Regions from separate parts of the Homo sapiens genome. Here region 1 is linked to region 2. The links are contacts of gene promoters, found by promoter capture Hi-C in human tissues and cell types (Jung and others, 2019). All regions are on one chromosome and are shown on one strand. The core of a region is centred on a gene start or on the middle of the fragment in contact, and the rest is flanking DNA. Distances in the headings are between cores, read along the strand shown.

Region 1 (5,037 bases), core at 456-2,955, 220 kb before region 2:
CCTGACAACTTCAGCGAGATGGTTTTGGCTTACAAACATTGTTAAGAGTGGATACTATCATTTTATTTTAAGGGAAGTGTTTCTGAACGTGGGGTCCACGGACCACCTGCATCAGAATCACTCTGGACATGTGTTAAAATGCTGATGCACCCTCTGCCTTTTGAGAACCACTTTTTTTTTTTTTTTTTTTTTCAGAGAAGGGGTCTTGAGCTATTGCCCAGGCTGGTCTCAAACTCCTGGCCTCAAGGAATCCTCCCGCCTCTGCCTGTCCGTGCTGGGATTTTAGGCATGAGCTACCATGCCCAGCTGAGAACCATTTTCTTACCAAAAATCATTCTCCATAGTCTCTCCATCCACTAGGATTTCTTTCTTTTTCTTCTTTGTAAAGATAGGTCATACTTGAACACAGGATTTCTTACCTACAAATAACCTACTCAAGCTTAGTAGATTGAGTTATCTGCAAATTGTTTTCCTAAACAGCTGAATAATCAATCTATTGCAGGAGTGGCTTCAGAGGTATTGTTTAAATGATGGTGAAAGACAAATGCAATAACTGTAGTTTTGTCGTAACGAATGCTAATCTCTTCCTCCTCACAAGCCCAACAGATTGAGAGATTTTGACAGCGCCTTCTCCCCTAGACAATAAAACTATGTCCTCCACATGCAGTGACTCACTTGCCCTCCTATTTGCGGCAGCAGGAAACTCTAATCAACTTGGCTCAAGATGAGCAAGTTCTCTAAATAAAGATTTAAAAGGAGGACTACCAGGACACAGCCCTGTTTAGCAAGAATTTTTTTTTTTTTTGAGATGGAGTCCCGCTCTGTCGCCCAGGCTGGAGTGCAGTGGCGCGATCTCGGCTCACTGCAACCTCCACCTCCCAGGTTTGAGAGATTCTCCTGCCTCAGCCTCCTGAGTAGCTGGGATTACAGGTGCACGCCACCATGCCTGGGTAATTTTTGTATTTTTAGTAGAGATGGGGTTTCATCATGTTGGCCAGGCTGGTCTTGAACTCCTGACCTCAAATGATCCACCCGCTTCGACCTCCCAAAGTGCTGGGATTACAGGTGTGAGGCACCGCACCTGGCCGATTTTCAGTCGATGCTGTGAAGCAAAGAGCAGCAGGTGAGGGATGGGGCCTGTCCTGGATCATGCCCCTTTGTTCACAGGCTAGGGATATGGGGAAACAGGCACACTCTTGCACACTGCCAACAGGTCTGTAAATTGGCATAAGCTTTCTGCAAAGAAATTTGGCAGTCTGTATTAATAACATGAAAAATTTTATAACGGCATAAACCAGCAATTCCACTGATAGAAATTTATGTTAAGGAGATGAGCTGAAATAATGTAAACAAAACATTAGACACGAAGATAGTCATCAGGGCTTTATTTAAAATAAGCAATACATTGGAAATATCCTAATTGTCCAACAGTAAGTTAACAATATGAGCTTTCTCTATGATGGCTTATTATTTAGTGTTTAGGCCGGGCGCGGTGGCTCACGCCTGTAATCCCAGCACTTTGGGAGGCTGAGGTGAGTGGATCACCTGAGGTCAAGAGTTTGAGACCAGCCTGGCCAACATGGTGAAACCCAGTCTCCACTAAAAATACAAAAAATTAGCCTGGCATGGTGGCACATGCCTGTAATCCCAGCTACTTGGGAGGCTGAAGCAGGAGAATCACGGAGGTGGAGGTTGCAGTGGGCCGAAATCGTGCCGTTGCACTCCAGCCTGGGCAACAAGAGTGAAACTCCATCTGGAAAAAAAAATGTTTAAAGGCTATGTCCAATGTTCCATAAGGGCAGGGACACACACACACAGTGTCACACACACACACACACACACACACACACACAGTGTCACACATACATACTAGCAACACACAGAACGGGCATAAAGTAAGATGTATTAAGGAGAAATTGCGAGCAGGGAGCAGTGGAGTCCACATGACCCCCGAGCTCTCATTGCACAGAGAGGTGGGTATGGTGGACACACAGCAGGATGTGGTACAGGAGAGAGACCTGCTCCTGTTTAACAGAAAATGGGAAGGGTAACAACGCTTCCAGTTGGGGGAGTGGCTTTGTTAGGAAGGAGGCCACCAGAGCTCAGCAGGGGGAGTTTTTATACAGCACCCTAGATTTTACTATGGAGCTGAGCTCTCCCAGTCCCCCTGAGCCAGCTCTTGTAGGACTCCAAAAGGGGGAAGCAAGGAACTGCCATCCAAGACATAAAAGATGTGCGTCTTCTCAGGCTATGTTTACGAAGCTAGTATCTTGAAGAAATGCTCATATCAGGTATGGCTAAAAAGGCAGGATACAAAATTATGTATACTGAATAAGTTAAACTATACATATATATTTTTTAATTTTTAATTTTTTTTTTGAGACGGAGTCTCACTCTGTCACCCAGGCAGGAGTGCAGTGGTGCAATCTCGGCTCACTGCAAGCTCCGCCTCCCGGGTTCACGCCATTCTCCTGCCTCAGCCTCCCGAGTAGCTGGGACTACAGGCGCCCGCCACCACGCCCGGCTAATTTTTTTGTATTTTTAGTAGAGACGGGGGTTCACCCTGTTAGCCAGGATGGTCTCGATCTCCTGACCTCATGATCCGCCCACCTCAGCCTCACAAAGCGCTGGGATTACAGGTGTGAGCCACCACGCCTGGCCTAAACTATATATTTTTTAAAGCATAAAAACATCCTGGAAGGAAGCATTGTCTGGTAGCAAGATTATGGGTTTTGATCTTTCAACTATAAATGTTCCCAAATGCACGTAACCAGTATGTGTGTTTTCTTTGGCATATTTCAATGCAGTTGTACAATTTTGTCCATAAAGATTAAGCACATCTTTTGTTAGATTTATTTTTATGTACTTTTTTTGGTCACCATCATAAACACTATAGTCTTAAAAATATTTTCTCTTTCACTGATATATAGGAATGCAGTTTTATTTTGTTTTTAAATCTCTTTTTGAGACAGAGTCTCCCTCTGTCATGCAGGCTGGAGTACAGTGGGGTGATCATAGCTCACTGCAGCCTCGAACTCTTGGGCTCAAGTGATCCTCCCCCCTCAACTTCTGAGTAGCTGGAACTATATGTGTGTGCTACTATGCCCAGCTAATTTTTTATTTTTTTATTTTTTATTTCTGTAGAGACAGGATCTTGCTATGTTACCCAGGCTGGTCTTGAACTCCTGGCCTCAAGTGTTCCTCCTGCCTCAGCCTCTCAAAGCACTGGGATTCAGGCATGAATCACCACACCCAGCTGGAATGCAATTATTTTTAAAATTTTGATTATGGATATAGAACTTTGCTAATAATGTATATGTTTGGGAAGTTTCTATGTAAACAATTATGTTATCTGCAAATAACCATAGGCTTGTTTCATCCCTTCCATACCCAAAATCACATTTCTGTACTCTCATACTTTTTGTTTAATTTTCTCGTCTTATTTCACCAGCTAAAACCTTCAACCTAATGTTGATTAGAAGCAGTGATTGTTGGCATCTTGTTTTTATTCCTGATTTTACAGAAACGTTTCTATTGTTTTAAGTATAATGTTTACACGGGGTTATAATTGACATTGTTTATCAGGTTAAAAGAGTTAACGTCTCTTTTTAGTTTGCTAGGAGTTTTAACAGGAGTAAGTGTTGACTTTTATCAAATAACTTTCCTGTATCTGCTGTGGTGATTGTGTCTCCCCTCCGTTCTGTTTATATGGTGATTTACATTAAGAAAGCATTGTCTTTATCTTGCATTTCTGATTTAAACTCAGCTTGATCATGATGTACTTTTAAAATATTTATTTATTTATTTATTTATTTAAGATAGAGTCCTGCTCTGTCACCAGGCTGGAGTGCAGTGGCACAATCTCGGCTCACTGCAATCTCTGCCTCCTGGGTTCAAGCAATTCTCGTGCCTCAGCCTCCTGAGTAGCTGGGATTACAGGTGTGTGCCACCAAGCCCAGCACACACCTGTAATCCAAAAAAATACAAATTTTTTGTATTTTTACCAGAGACGGGGTTTCTCTAGGTTGGCCAGGCTGGTCTGGAACTCCCGGCCTCAAGTGATCCGCCTGCCTCGGCCTGCCAAAGTGTTGGGGTTACAGGCGTGAGCCGCCGCGCCCGGCCATGATGCACTTTGGCTTGCTAATATTTTATTTACGATGCTTCCATGTATTATTACTGGGACTTATTAATCTATAGTTTGTCTTTCTTATCCTATCTTTGGTTTCCAACCTTATAAAATTATTAGTAGATCATTTCCTCCTGTTCCAAACTCTGAATATGTTTGTATAGAATTGAAATTACCTGTTCCTTGAATGTCTGATTTGCCTGTAAACTCATCTTAGCCTGCATTTTTTTGTGGGGTGGATAGATTATATATACATATTTTTTTTTGAGACGGAGTCTCACCTTGTCACCCAGGCTGGAGTGCAATGGCATGATCTCCGCTCACTGCAACCTCTGCCTCCCAGGTTCACGCCGTTCTCCTGCCTCAGCCTCCAGAGTAGCTGGGACTACAGGCGCCTGCCACCATGCCCAGCTAATTTTTTTTTCACCGTGTTAGCCAGGATGGTCTCAATCTCCTGACCTCATGATCCGCCTGCCTCACCCTCCCAACGTGTTAGGATTACAGGCGTGAGCCACCGCACCCGGCCTAGATTATATTTTTTAAACTGCTGATTCAATTTAAAATAGTTTATAGTGGCCGGGCGAGGTGGCTCATGCCTGTAATCCCAGCACTTTGGGATGCCGAGGTGGGTAGATCACCTGAGGTCAGGAGTTTGAGACCAGCCAGGACGACATGGTGAAACCCAGTCTCTACTAAAAATACAAAAATTAGCCGGGCGTGGTGGCATGCGCCTGTAATCCCAGCTACTTGGGAGGCTGAAGCAGGAGAATCTTGAACCTGGGAGGCAGAGGTTGCAGTGAGCTGAGATCATGCCATTGCACTCCAGCCTGGGCAACAAAGCAAGACTCTGTTTCAAAAAAATAAATAAATAAAATTAAATAAATAAAATAAAATAGTTTTTAGCCAGGTTT
Region 2 (4,970 bases), core at 1,557-4,056:
CCCCGTCTCTACTAAAAAAAAAAAAAAATTAGCCGGGCATGGTGGCAGGCCCCCGTAGTCCCAGCTACTCAGGAGGCTGAGGCAGGAGAATGGCATGAACCTGGGAGGCAGAGTTTGCAGTGAGCCGAGATCCGGCCACTGCACCACTCCAGCCTGGGCGAGAGCGAGATTCTGTCTCAAAAAAAAAAAAAGAAAGGAAAAAAAGAAATGTGCTCTCAGGTAAAAGCAAGATTTTGCAGCAGGTGAAAGAATGAGGTAGATCTATGTGTACTGATATAGAAAGATAGATACATTGTTACATTAAAAAACAAGTTTCTTGGCTGGGCGCAGTGGCGGTGGCTCATGCCTGTAATCCCAACACTTTGGGAGGCCGAGGCGGGTGGATCACCTGAGGTCAGGAGTTTGAGACCAGTCTGGCCAACATGGTGAAACTCCGTCTCTACTAAAAATACAAAAATCACTTGGGTGTGGTGGCGGGCGCCTGTAATCCCAGCTACTCGGGAGGCAGAGGCAGGAGAATCACTTGAACCAGGGAGGCTGAGGTTGCAGTGAACCAAGATTGCACCACTGCACTCCAGCCTGGGTGACAGAGTGAGTGAAGGTCGGTCTCAAAAAAAAAAAAAAGTTTCAGAACATTGAATATTGTTATTATTACATAGGGATCTGTATAGAAAGATCTAGAGGAATAATTACAAACAAAATAATGCTTATCTCTGAGGTGTGGGATTATGAGGTGCTTACATTTCCTGAGTCCTGCATTTTGGTGCTATTTTAATTGTTTTGAACAAATGTGTATTTATTTTGGGACTTAAAAATAAACACTTGCTTAGAAGATAGGTCTGATTTGTTTTATGCTGCTTAAGAATTTGTTACTGGCTATACATTCCAGAAACATGTGAAGAGAGGATTTCCCTAAGGAATATATCACTTACCAATATTTACAGAAAAAATGAACTGAGACCTAGGAAGATCGTGTGGCTTTTCTCCCGCTGTGACTCCTAGACCTGGACCTTCAGCTCCATGGTTGCCGACTTCAGTGCTGAGGGCTAAAATACATAGATATCTCCAACTCCAACATACATATTTGGAAACTTAGGCAACAGTGCTTTGTGGAAAACTGTGCAACTGCTTAGAGGAGAGAGAATTTTTTGTAATAGGCTGAAAAGAGGCTAACTGTGTATTTCTTCAATGACAGGCAATTCTTGGTGGCAAATGTGATACAGGTGAAGAAGACAGAAACATACAGGCTAGTGCTTCTCCAGAAATACAATTGAAATCAAAATCGCGTGAATATTACCTCTGGGGCCTTTTGTATATCTTAGAAACTCATTAAGTTCTTTGGATAGCATCCATTTAATTTATAAGTATTTACTGAGCACTTAGTATGTGCTTAGCCACTGGGGCACAACACAGAGTCAAAGAGACAAACTCCTGGCACGCCTCAAGCTCCTATCCTCCTGGGGAAAACATACTAAGCAGGATAATGTATAAATAAAGGAGAGAATTTCAGGTAAAGATATAATGAAGCAGGGAAAGGGACAGTGACAAGAGTGCTATTTTTGAAAGGTCAGGAAGCTTTTTAGGGAAAAGTGTCATCTGATCAGGGACCTGGAGTGGGGAAGGGAGCTACACAGAGCTCTTAGGGGAGGGCAGCACAGGAGGTCAGCGAGAGGCAGGCCCTGGGTGGTAGTAGGAATTTCTTATGTTTCTGAAAAGGCAAAGAACATCTTAAAGAAAGCGCTCACAACGTTTGGGATGTTACGGATCTGTGTTGTTGTTTTCATGTTTATAGACTCAGTGCTGTAAATGTATCTCTGTTGCTTACATATTTTAGAATGAATTTCATTTAGGAGTCTAAGTCTACTACGAAGGCACTGCCTTATCTAAATGTCTCTAAACATACCTCCTGCCTATCACAAAGACATAGAATCTCACTCACAAGAGTCAAAGTTGTTCATTCCACCAGGAGAGATAAGGCTGGACCAAAAGCACCCCTGGGTTTAAGTCCACACTCCCCACCACCCCGGCCCCCACCCCCAAGCAGTGACAGACTGTCTTGAACTTCTCGCTGCAAGGGTCATAAAAGGGACAGAGAACAGAGCGACAGAAGATGTCTTCTGCATTCTCAACTTTTAGCCCCAGTTGTTAGAGAACTGGTATCTCCCCTACACGTCTGGCTCTGGTGGAGAAAGAATGACAGCCCCTACTTACAACGAGGAGACTGTGGCTCAGAGAAGTTAGGGGGCTGCCCAGGATCCTGGAGAAAGCCAGCTTTGACTCATAACCCTCGCGCCATTACCTGACTCCCATTAGTGGAGTCAGGAACTCCATGTTCCACTTCAGGAAATGAGCTTGTTGATTTTTCATTTACACAAAAATGAAAAATAAATACCAGATGTTTGAAAACATGTTGCAACACGTCCTGCTGGAACTTAAAAGTGCATTCTGACCAAAAAAATTAAATTAGAAAATCCACATAGCAAAAAAAAAAATGTTTTGGATGAAAATATACTTTATCTTTCTCTCACACATACTCTCTCTCTCTCTCGCACACATACCCACACACACACACACACACACACACGCGCGCGCGAAAACAATATCTCATTTCTTCTTCAGGGAGCAGCTGTGAAGGAAATCGGGGGAGGAGGATGGACACAACATCCCATCTTTGTGTTTCGATACAGACTAAGCTTTTAGGCCAACCCTCCTGACTGGATGGGGGCGGCGGGCGTGGCATGCATGAAAAGTAAACATCAGAGACCTGAAGAAGCTTATAAAATAGCTTGGGAGAGGCCAGTCACCAAGACAGGCATCTCAAATCGGCTGATTCTGCATCTGGAAACTGCCTTCATCTTGAAAGAAAAGGTATGTACTGTAGTTTTAAGCTTTTCATTTATGATAATAATGTCTAAAATAGAAACAGTCTAGACTCTCCATTGCCCCATTTCAGCTACATATAACTACCACTGATTGAGAGCTTGTGCCGGTAGCTTTAGACTTGTTCTCATTTTTCCTCAAACAAATGTACAAGGTAGGTATCATCAGAGCCATTTTTCCAGTGATAAAGCTGAGGTTCAGATACACTAGCAACATGCCTAAGATAAAACCAAACCCAGTGTGAACTCATCCCAGCGTCTTTTGCTTACCCCTCCAAACTGGACAACGAGGTGTTTCCATGCACAAACACCGTCCTAGGTGAATTCTCAGCAAGCTGTCCAACGGTGCATCGCAGTAAAATAATCTGGAAACTGGAATTAATGGTGTGACTAGAAAATGCATTTGACAATATGGCATAAAATATTGTGTTTGGGAGATACGTGTCTTGTTATATTTAATGGCTAAATGAGTCTTTGAGACCTAATGACTTATTGGAACCTATTTTATTTTATGAGGTGAAATTTCAAAATCTAGTCCTTCACGTTCTGCAGATCTTTGAGGTCAGGGGCTGTGTCCCCAGGCACTAAGAGCGCGGGCTTGTGGGAGACCTAGGCTTACATTCTAGCCTGTCCCCAGGCCTAGGCTTACACTGTGGCTTCGTAGTTTACCAGGAAGTAACCCGGGCAAATTCACCTCGTTGGTATGAAGAGAGTGTCAGCAGAGGTCGCCTCCAGAGGAGGTGCTGTGGAGACTGAGCGCATAGCACCCTTAAAATCCTGGGACCAGGGCTTCTCCACGGGTAAGCTTAATGCAAGTGGAGCAGTGATTTCCAGCTAGTGCCAGGCCCAAGGTGGATGCACTGTCACCTTAGTTGGATTGCTTTTTAATTACCTCATATTCTGTTAAAAATCATATTTCTTTTTTTTTTTTTTTGAGACGGAGTCTCACTCTGTCACCCAGGCTGGAGTGCAGTGGCGCGATCTCGGCTCACTACAGCCTCCGCCTCCCAGGTTCAAGCCATTCTTGTGCCTCAGCCTCCCAAGTAGCTGGGATTACAGGACTGCACCACCATGCCCAGCTAATTTTTGTATTTTTTGTTTGTTTGTTTTTGTTTTGTTTTTTTGAGATGGAGTTTTTGCTCTGTTGCCCAAGCTAGAGTGCAATGGTGTGATCTTGGCTTACTGCAACCTCTGCCTCCCATGTTCAAGCAATTATCCTGCATCAGCCTCCCGAGTAGCTGTGATTACAGGTACTTGCCACCACACCTGGCTAATTTTTTGTATTTTTAGTAGAGACGGGGTTTCGCCATGTTGGCCAGGCTGGTCTCAAACTCCTAACCTCAAGTGATCTGCCCACCTCGGCCTCCCAAAGTGTTGGGATTACAGGCATTAGCCATCATGCCCGGCCAAAAATAATATTTAAATTATACTTATTTTGTAAAGTATTTAAACTCCTCATAAGAACAATCTTCCTATTGATATCAGAAGAAGATGCAAAAATATATGTCGTATATAATCCATATGTTACCCAAAGTCTTAAGTACACATTAATAACATGCTCAATAAGTAATGAGTAAATTAGAATGAAAGGACATTGAAAACTATAATGGATGCTGTCCGCCCTTTCTCTCACAAGGAGTTTTTTTGTTGTTGTTGTTTGTTTGCTTGTTTTGAGACGGAGTTTTGCTCTTGTTGCCCAGGCTGGAGTGCAATGATGCAATCTCAGCTCACCACAACCTCCACCTCCCGGGTTCAAGCAATTCTCCTGCCTCAGCCTCCCGATTACAGGCATGCATGTAATTACAGGCAGCATGGGATTACAGGCATGCACCACCATGCCCAGCTAATTTTTTTATTTTTAGTAGAGATAGGGTTTCTCCATGTTGGTCAGGCTGGTCTTGAACTCCCAACCTCAGGTGCTCCACCTGCCTCGGCCTCCCATGGGATTACAGGCTTGAGCCACCGCACCTGGCATCACAAGGAGTTTTAACCACAGGAATAAAACTAATGTAACCAAGAGGCATCTTTGGAAGAGGGTCAGTCAAAGGGGTTGTTCTGAAATCCTCCTACTGAGGTAAAGAATCTGTTTCA

Evidence for each region. The method cuts DNA at HindIII sites, captures the fragments that hold promoters and counts their contacts. A contact is called where the count stands out against the background at its distance.
Region 1: a fragment that was not itself captured here is called in contact with the fragment with the promoter of APOD in region 2 in 3 of the 25 tissues and cell types used here (lymphoblastoid cells, mesenchymal stem cells and spleen).

Annotation. Positions count from the first base shown.
Region 1 is chr3:195,796,046-195,801,082 of GRCh38, reverse strand. All of the region lies in intron 1 of MUC4 (mucin 4, cell surface associated), which reads left to right. Among named protein-coding and RNA genes, the nearest start is that of MUC4, 13 kb to the left of the region's middle. The HindIII fragment of the contact is 4,037 bases long and covers 1-3,723 here.
Region 2 is chr3:195,581,776-195,586,745 of GRCh38, reverse strand. APOD (apolipoprotein D) reads left to right here and starts at 2,806. Exons shown (of 5, transcript NM_001647.4): 1 at 2,806-2,868. RefSeq lists an enhancer at 3,186-3,355. The HindIII fragment of the contact is 4,834 bases long and covers 1-3,286 here.